2 separate regions of the Homo sapiens genome follow, and region 1 is linked to region 2. The links are contacts of gene promoters, found by promoter capture Hi-C in blood cells and fetal thymus (Javierre and others, 2016). All regions are on one chromosome and are shown on one strand. Each heading gives the region's core, a stretch centred on a gene start or on the middle of the fragment in contact. The rest is flanking DNA. Distances are from core to core; before and after follow the strand shown.

Evidence for each region. The method cuts DNA at HindIII sites, captures the fragments that hold promoters and counts their contacts. A CHiCAGO score of 5 or more calls a contact.
Region 1: a contact is called between a fragment that was not itself captured here and the fragment with the promoter of ZNF222 in region 2, in 1 of 17 cell types (total CD4 T cells). The highest score is 5.4, in total CD4 T cells.

What each region holds. Positions count from the first base shown.
Region 1 is chr19:36,565,089-36,569,484 of GRCh38, reverse strand. All of the region lies in intron 2 of ZNF529 (zinc finger protein 529), which reads left to right. Among named protein-coding and RNA genes, the nearest start is that of ZNF529, 6.0 kb to the left of the region's middle. The HindIII fragment of the contact is 309 bases long and covers 1,346-1,654 here.
Region 2 is chr19:44,023,419-44,027,618 of GRCh38, reverse strand. ZNF222 (zinc finger protein 222) reads right to left here and starts at 2,240. Exons shown (of 4, transcript NM_001129996.2): 1 at 2,141-2,240; 2 at 470-596; 3 at 129-221. The coding sequence starts at 2,182. It overlaps ZNF222-DT (ZNF222 divergent transcript), which reads left to right and starts at 2,337. Exons shown (of 3, transcript NR_184028.1): 1 at 2,337-2,504; 2 at 2,600-2,721; 3 at 3,720-4,200. RefSeq lists enhancers at 1,945-1,994, 2,225-2,274. The HindIII fragment of the contact is 1,542 bases long and covers 884-2,425 here.

The DNA of each region.
Region 1 (4,396 bases), core at 251-2,750, 7.5 Mb after region 2:
CCAGTTTTTTAAAAAGTAATTATTTCTCTTTGTTGATATCTCACTTATTTATATGTCATTTTCGTGATTTCCTTTTTAGTTCTTTCTCTGTTTTCCTTTAGCTCTATGAGCATATTTAAGACAGTTTTTACAAAGCCTTTTTCTAGTTACTCCAATGCTTTTGTTTCTTCAAGTGTAATTTATTTTGCTCCTTTGATTGGACCCTGTTTTCCTGTGTCTTTGTATGCCTTGCAGTCTTTTGTTGAAAACTGGGCATTTGAAGAAACAGCTACTTCTCCTAATTTTTGCAGACCGTTGGAGATCTTCACTAATTAGGGCCTTGGGATCATCTCAGGGTGAAAGTCTAAGGTCTTACGTTTTTCCTGGGTCTGTAGCATGCCTGTGCCTATACCTGTGTATATGCTTTTACCAGTTTCCCTAATATGCATAGCTGCTTTCAAATGCCTTAATTTCATAGGGTCTCACCCTTGCTTCTTAGGCCCTAGATGTTATATTTTTCCACCTGTAATCGTTTGCTCCAAGTATCCACAGGTGTCCAGGCAATTAAAATATCATTGAGTTTTGCATACTGATCTTATATCCTGCAGTGCTGCTGCACTTATTTCTAGTTTTAATAGTGTTTTAGCTTTGATGCACCACAGTGCCCACCACTGTCCTTTGTGGCCTTTACCTGCCTGAGATCTGAGCTGTGCAGCCTTTTACATGTTGAAACTCAAAAGTCAGAGTGGCTCACACCTGTAATCCCAGCACTTTGGGAGGCCAAGGCAGGCAGATCACTTGAGGTTAGGACTTCGAGACCAGCCTGGCCAACATAGTGAAACCCTGTCTCTATTAAAAGTACAAAAATTTGCCAGGCGTGGTGGTGTGCACCTGTAATCCCAGCTGCACAGGAGGCTGAGGCAGGAGAATTGCTTGAACCTGGGAGGCAGAGGTTGCAGTGAGCCGAGATCATGCCACTGCACTCCAGCCTAGATGACAAAGTGAGACTCTGTGTAAAAAAAAAAAAAAAAGAAAGAAAATCAGATAAAACAGAAACCAGTACCTCAGTACCTCAAGGAGCCCACAGACAGATTAGCATGTTCCAAATAAGCTCTGCTTTGTTCCTTCTGGCCTGAAGGAGGGAAATGGGAACTGGGCTGCTTCTTCCATGCTGCACTAGAGATGGAGTAAGAGCACAAGTAACATAATCAACAAATTCACTACCATTTTGAATGTGACTTTCTCCTGACTGGGCATTTGTTTGATAGTTACAGTCTTTGAGTGATTTCCAGACCCTTACAAAGATATTTTAGCTAGTCTCTAGTTGTTTTTTAAGTGTTTCAATAGAGAATAGGGAATTGAAGCTTCCTCAGCTGCCATCTTGCTGATGTTATTCTCATGGTTCTGTTATTATTTTCCTATTGTCTAATGATTTTCAGCATCTTTCCATGTACTTGTTGACCATTTGTTCATCTTTTATGAAGAAATGTCTACTGAAGTCTTTTGCCAGCTTTTAACTTGGGCTGTTTGTCTTTTTGTTGGGCTGAGTTGTAGGAGTTTTTATATATTCTGGATGTTAAATGCTCATGAGATATATGATTTGCAGATATTTTTTCACATCGTGCAGGCTGTCTTATCAGTTTCTTCTATAATGATTTTTTGATGCACAAAAGCTTTTAGTTTTGATACATCCTAATTCATCAAAATTTTCTTTTGCTGCTTATCCTTTTGGTGTCATCATTTAAGAATCCATTGCCAAATATAGGCCAGATGCAGTGGCTCAGACTGTAATCCCAGCACTTTGGGAGGCAGATATGGGTGGATCACTTGAGGTCAGGAGTTTGAAACCAGCCTGGCCAGCATGGTGAAACCCCGTCTCCTACTAAAAATACAAAAATTAGCCAGGCATGGTGGCAGGCACCTGTAATCCCAGCTACTCAGGAGGAGGCTGAGGCAGGAGAATCACTTGAACCTGGGAGGTGGAGGTTGCAGTGAGCCGAGATGGCGCCACTGCACCCCACTCTGGGTGACAGAGTGAGACTCCATCTCAAAAAAAAAAGAATCCATTGCCAAATATAAGTTCATGATGACTTACCCCTACATTTCCTTCTAAGAGTTTTATAGTTTTAGCTCTTATATTTGGGTCATTGATCTGTTTTCAGTTACTTTTTTTATGTGTTATTAAGGAGTGATGCAATTTCATTCTTTTGCATGTGGATATTCAATTTTTCTGGCACCATTTGTTGAAAAGACTGTTCTTTCCTCTATTTCATTAGATTGGCACCCTTGTCAAAAATCACTTGACCCTAGCTACACTGGTTTAAATTTTCACTCAGTTCTATTCCATTGATGAATATATCTATCCATATTCCGTGCCCCACAGTCTTGATTATTGTGGTTTTATAGTCAGTTCTGAATTGGGAAATATCAGTCTTCCAGCTTTGTTTTGGCTGAATCTGTTGCAATGTCATATGAATTTTTTTTTTTTTTTGGAGACAGTCTCGCTCTGTTGCCCAGGCTGGAATGCAGTGGCGCGATCTCGGCTCACTGCAACCTCTGCCTCCTTCCAGCGCTTCTCCTGCCTTAGCCTCCCAAGTAGCTGAGACTACAGGTGCCTGCCACCACACCAGGCTAATTTTTGTATTTTTAGTAGAGATGGGATTTTACCATATTGGCCGGGCTGGTCTGAAACTCCCGACCTCAGGTGATGTACCTGTCTTGGCCTCCCAAAGTGCTGGGATTACAGGCATAAGCCACCAGGCCTGGCCCTTTTTTTTATTATTTTTTTGAGACAAGGTATCATTCCATCACCCAGGCTGGAGTTCAGTGGTGCAATCGCAACTCACTGCAGCCTCAACTGCCTGGGCTCAAGTGATCCTCCTACCCCAGCCCCAGCCCTCACACACCCCCGCCCCCCACCTCCCCAACAGCTAGGACCACAGGTGAGCACCACCATGCCTGGCTAATTTTTTGTATTTTTGGTAGAGACAAGGTTTCACCATGTTGGCCAAGCTGGTCTTGAACTCCTGGGCTCAAGCGATCTGCCTGCCTCAGCTTCCCAAAAGTGTTGGGATAAGTGGTATGAGCCACTACACCTGGCTTTCTTTTGGTTTTAATTAACTTATTGTACTGTACCATTTTAATTCCCTTGTCATTTCTTTTATATAAGCTGATTGTTTTCTTAGCATGTGTTCTGAAGATTACAGTGAATATTTTACATTTACAAATAACTGGTTTGAATTTATAGACTTTGGTCATGGAACTCCAAGACCACTTTCAGGTTCACTGACTGCTAGATGGACTCACACAACTCAGAAAAGTGTTGTTGTTGTTGTTTTCCCACTAGTGAAAGGATCACATTAAAATTAATGAAAGCTGGCTATTCCGGGGCCAGAATTTATCTTCTAGGTGTTAGTCAAGGGCTACAACTTTCTTTGGAATAGGCAGGGTTTAAACATTCCAGACACTACTGCACTCCAGCCGGGGCAAAAGAGTGAGACCCTGTCTCAAACAAACAAAATTCCAGACCTGTTGAATCAAAACTGTGCTGCATACTCCTTAGCTTTAATACTATATCCAAAACTCTGTTCCTATACAGTTCTGCTCCTCTTCATGTTGTTTTGTCACAGATTACATTTTTATACATTGTGTGCTCTTTAACATTGGTTTATAATGACTGTTTTACACGTTAGTCTTTTAAATCATATTGGGGAAATAAAGAGGACCTGCAAGCCCAAGATGCAATAGACTTTTGTATTTGCCTATTTAGGTACCTTTATCGTTGTTTTCTTTTCTTTCTTTTTTTTGAGACAGAGTCTCACTCTGTCGCCCAGGCATGAGAGCGGTGGCACAATCTCTGCTCACTGCAACCTCCGCCTCTGGGGTCAAGCAATTCTCCTACATCAGCCTCCCAAGTAGCTGGGATTATAGGCATGTGCCACCATTCCCAGCTAATTTTTGTATTTTTAGTAGAGATGGGGTTTCACCATGTTGGCCAGGCTTGTCTCGAACTCCTGACCTCATGATCCGCCTGCCTTGGCCTCCCAAAATGCTGGGATTACAGGTGTGAGCCACCGCGCCCGGCCTGTTCTTCATTTTTGTATATGGCTTTGAGTTACTTTCTACTGTCTTTTTATTCCAACTTGCAGGGCTCCCTTAGCTTTTCTATTATGGCATGTCTTCGAATGAGGTCCCTCAGTTTTTGTTTACTTGGGTATGTTTTAGTTTCTCCTTCATTGTGTTTTTGGTTTCTTTTTTCAACTTTTATTTTCGATTCAGGGGGTACATTTGCAGGTTGGTTAACATGAGTATATTGCATGATGCTGAGATTTGGAGTACAATTGATCTTGTCTTCCAGATAGTGAACCTAGTACCCAATAGTTTTTCAACTCTTGTTTCTCTCCCTCCCTCCCGCCTC
Region 2 (4,200 bases), core at 991-3,490:
CATCAGCAGGGAGAAGGCTGTAATAATCCAGGAAACAGGTTTGGCCATTTACCCCAAAATGCTGGAAATGGGCATGGACAGAAGTAACAGGAATCACATGCAGGGACACACAATTGCTTGGTTCTTACCCAAATTCCCTTCTCTTTGGCTTGTTGTCCCCATCACCCAAAACTTTTCTTCCCTTAGGAAGTGGAAAGTATCTCCATGGAATGGTTGATGCCCTGTGAACAGGCAAAGTCACATGCTTAATCCCAACATGTTCAAGGTAATATCATGTTGGTGCAAACGTAATTGCAGTGTACCATTACTTCCAATGACAAAAACCACAATTACTTTTGCACCAACCTAATAGCCAGGCAAAATTTACTGGAAATGTAGGTTCTCACTGCACACTCAAACTTGAAAACCCTAGGATTAAAAAACCACTCCTGGGGCCTGACATTCCATTACAGGGGGTGCCCGTCCTCACCCACTGAGAGCAGGTTCCTGAAGTTCTCAAGCATCACATCTCGGTACAGCTTCCTCTGGGCAGGGTCCAGCAGCCCCAGCTCCTCCTCAGTGAAGATCACAGCCACATCCTTGAAGGTCACTGCCTCCTACAACATCAAGCAGATGTCACCTCAATCTTACGGCCAAAGACTATTGGGAGACAGCAGCATTGCACTGGCACAAGGGACAAGTGTAAAGTTGTTTTGGATCTTGAGAGACATAGGTCAGCTTATAGATTTCCTACTTATTCTGTTTGTGTCCTGACAATGACTGATTAGGCAATAGGGGTTTGGAATGGAGACTGCACACACCAGTCAACAGGGTGTGTCCTGAATAAATAGTGGGTAAAGGACATTTACTGAGATGCTATCTCTAACTCCACTTCAGGAAAGCTTGCTGCAGAGTTAGAGTGATATAGTCCAAATGCTCTGTTTGAGTCGCGGGCCCTTTGACGAAAATGAGACTGAGGCAGGAGAATCACTTGAACCCGAGAGGCGGAGGTTACAGTGAGCCAAGATTGCACCACTGCACTCCAGCCTAAGCAACAAGAGCGAAACTCTGTAAAAAAAAAAATATATATATATATAGAGAGAGAGAGAGAAAGAAAATAGTAGATAAGGTTAAAAAAATTAAAAAGCAAAAAGCAAACAAACAAAAACTCCTATAGAAGTCCAAGCCCCTGAGCCTTGCCTCAAGGTGCCTTCAATCAAGTCCTAACTTACGTTCTCCACCTGTTCCCAGCTAGTACCTCTGCCTCAATGAGAATTGCATTCAAGAGATGATCAACTCAGGCTCTAACCTGGACTGCCTAGGTTTCAACTCCTGCTCCACCTGTGTCTCACGCCCATCTTTAAAATGAAAAAAGCAGCACCTCTCCACAGTGCCACTGTGAAGATCATGTATTTTGGGGTATAAAGTACTTGGAATAAAGTTACCAATTAAGGCTTAATCATTATCGACACCCATGCCCGAGGGACAAATCCTACACACTCTCGGTTGAGGTAAGCATCTCTGTCAAAGAAAAAAAGCCAAGGATCACTCACGTAGAGCTTTGCCATCAGTAGCCAAGAAGTCCCTTCCTGCAGCTCTTTTAGAAAGGTCGGGCTGGGGAAAAAGAAAGCTGTGAAACACCCTGACCGTTTTGCCGTCCCCCATAAAAGTTAAATGCTCCCCTCACTTTCCTAAAAAGAGGTCAGAAGGCGTCAGGGATCATCCAGCGTCCTGCAGGGATCAGGCAGAAGGGCCGGCGCCCCTGCAGCTGGAGCTCTGACCCCACCAGAGGACCTGACAGGCTTCGTGGGAAATTAACAAGAGACCACCAGACACCGAGTGACAGGGACTGCTTTTAAGGCTCTCATTTGTGTTACCTCTTTCAGGTCCCAAAATGAATCCATTAGGATGGTCCGAAAAGTCCCGTTACAAAACAAACAAACAAACGAACCAGCAATGGAAGATAAACGGACATTAAGTGACACTCCACACCACACTGAAAGGGGCTGCACACGTAGGGAGGAGGGAGGCGGACTAAGCGAGGTCAAAGTAGGGCACACCGGGCCGCGCCAATCCCACTCCCTGAGACCCTAGCAGAGCCCCCCGACGCCAGAAGGCTCAGCTGACTGGAACGGCAATCCCCGCCCGCGCCCCTCCAAACCTCTGCTCTCCGCCCAGGCTTCTTTTCTCCTGAATCGATCATTGGGTGGTTGCGAGCCCCAAGGAAAGGAGACTCGTTCGGAAGGACTCGCAAGATGTGGAAATGACTCAAACTACTGTGGTAAATGAAATAGCAACGTCACAGTTGGGGACCGGAAGTGCTCGAGCCTCCACAGAGCGTGTGGACTCCACTTCCCAGAATTCCCCGGACTCGCCCGTGTGAGACAAAGGGCCCGCGACTCAAACAGAGCATTTGGACTATATCACTCTAACTCTGCAGCAAGCTTTCCTGAAGTGGAGTTGGAGATAGCATTTCAGTAAATGTCCTTTACCCACTGCTTATTCGGGACACACCCTGTTGACTGGTGCGTGCAGTCTCCATTCCAAACCACTATTGCCATTCCTATCGCTTCCATAAAGCCTAAGAAATCAAATATTTTCTTTCTCTGCCTTCATCTAGCTAGAAATTTTCATGGGACACAATTTTGGGAAGTGAGACATTAGGAGAAGTGAGCTGTCCTCTCCTGACAAGAAATGTGCTTGGCAGGCTGTGAGTACACGAGGAGTTGAAAGAGTAAAAAGGTGATCGTCTCAGTGGACTGTAGGTATTGGCGAGGTTCTAATATTACTGATGCTAGCATGCTGGTGGGACCAAGGTGGAAATACAAGTCAAAGTTGTTGGAGAGTAGTGCTGCAAATTATTATGGAGGAATATTTGCTAGAAAATGACGAGGTCTAAAATATGACCATGGGAGAGAGTGTCCCTTGATATTTCACATGAATCTCAGGTGGATTTTTTCATTTCTGAGAAAAATGTTACTGTGATTAAGGATTGCATTGAATCTATAGATATAGGTATTGACAGCCTTGCAATATCAAGTCGCCCAATCCATTAATAATGGATATATCTCCATTTATTTGCGCCTTCTTTAATTTTTTTTTTTTTTTTTTTGAGACAGAGTCTCACTCTGTCGCCCAAGCTGGAGTGCAGTGGCACAATCTTGGCTCACTGCAACCTCCGCCTCCTGAGTTCAAGCGATTCTCCTGCCTCAGCCTCCCAAGTAGCTGGGATTACAGGCACGTACCACCATACCTGGCCAATTTTTGTATTTTTAGTGAAGACAGGGGTTTCACCAGGTTGGCCAGGCTGATCTCGAACTCCTGGCCTCAAGTTATTCGCCTGCCTGGGCCTCACAAAGTGCTGGGATTACAGGCATAAGCCACCATGCCTGGGGTGCCTTCTTTAATTTTCTTTAGTAAGATGTTGCAAAATTCAGTGTCCAAGTGTTTCTTGTCATTGGTTAAGACAGTTCCTAAGTAATTTATTTATTTAATGCTATTGCAAAGGGAACTATTTTCCTTTTCAGATTAATTGTTTTTGTATAGAAATACAACTGCTTCTTCTATGTAGATATTTTTCCTGCAACTTTCTGACTTTACTAGCTCTAAGAGTTTTTTTTTCTTGTGAATTCTTTAGAATTTTTATATATAAGAACATGTCATTAGCATATAGACAATTTTACCTCTGTTTCCAATTTTAATAGCTTTATTTTCTTTTTCTATCTAATTGTTCTGCATAGAACTTCCAATACTACATTGACTAAATGTGGGAAAAGTGGAGAAAACTCATTGTGTTCCTGATATTAGAAGAAAAGCTTTCAGTCCTTCACCATTGAGTATGACAATCAGCTCTGAGAATTTCCATATATAGCCTTTATTTTGCTGGGGTAGTTTATTCTCCTTCTAGTTATTTGGTATTTCAATCATGAAAAGGTGCTAGGTGCTGAATTTTGTGAAACTGAATGTTCTGCATTCACTGACATGATGTGATTTATACCTTCCACTCTGCTCATGTGGAGTATTACATTGATATTTGTATGTTGAACCATAATTATATTCGCCTTCCAGGAATAAAACAGTTCGGTCACTAAGTGTAATCCTTTTAATATGCTGCTGGATCTTGCTGGTATTTTGCTGGTGAATTCTTGCATCAGTATTCATAAGGGATATTGGTGTATAATTTTATTGAATTGTCTTTTTCTGGTTTGGCATCAGGGTAAT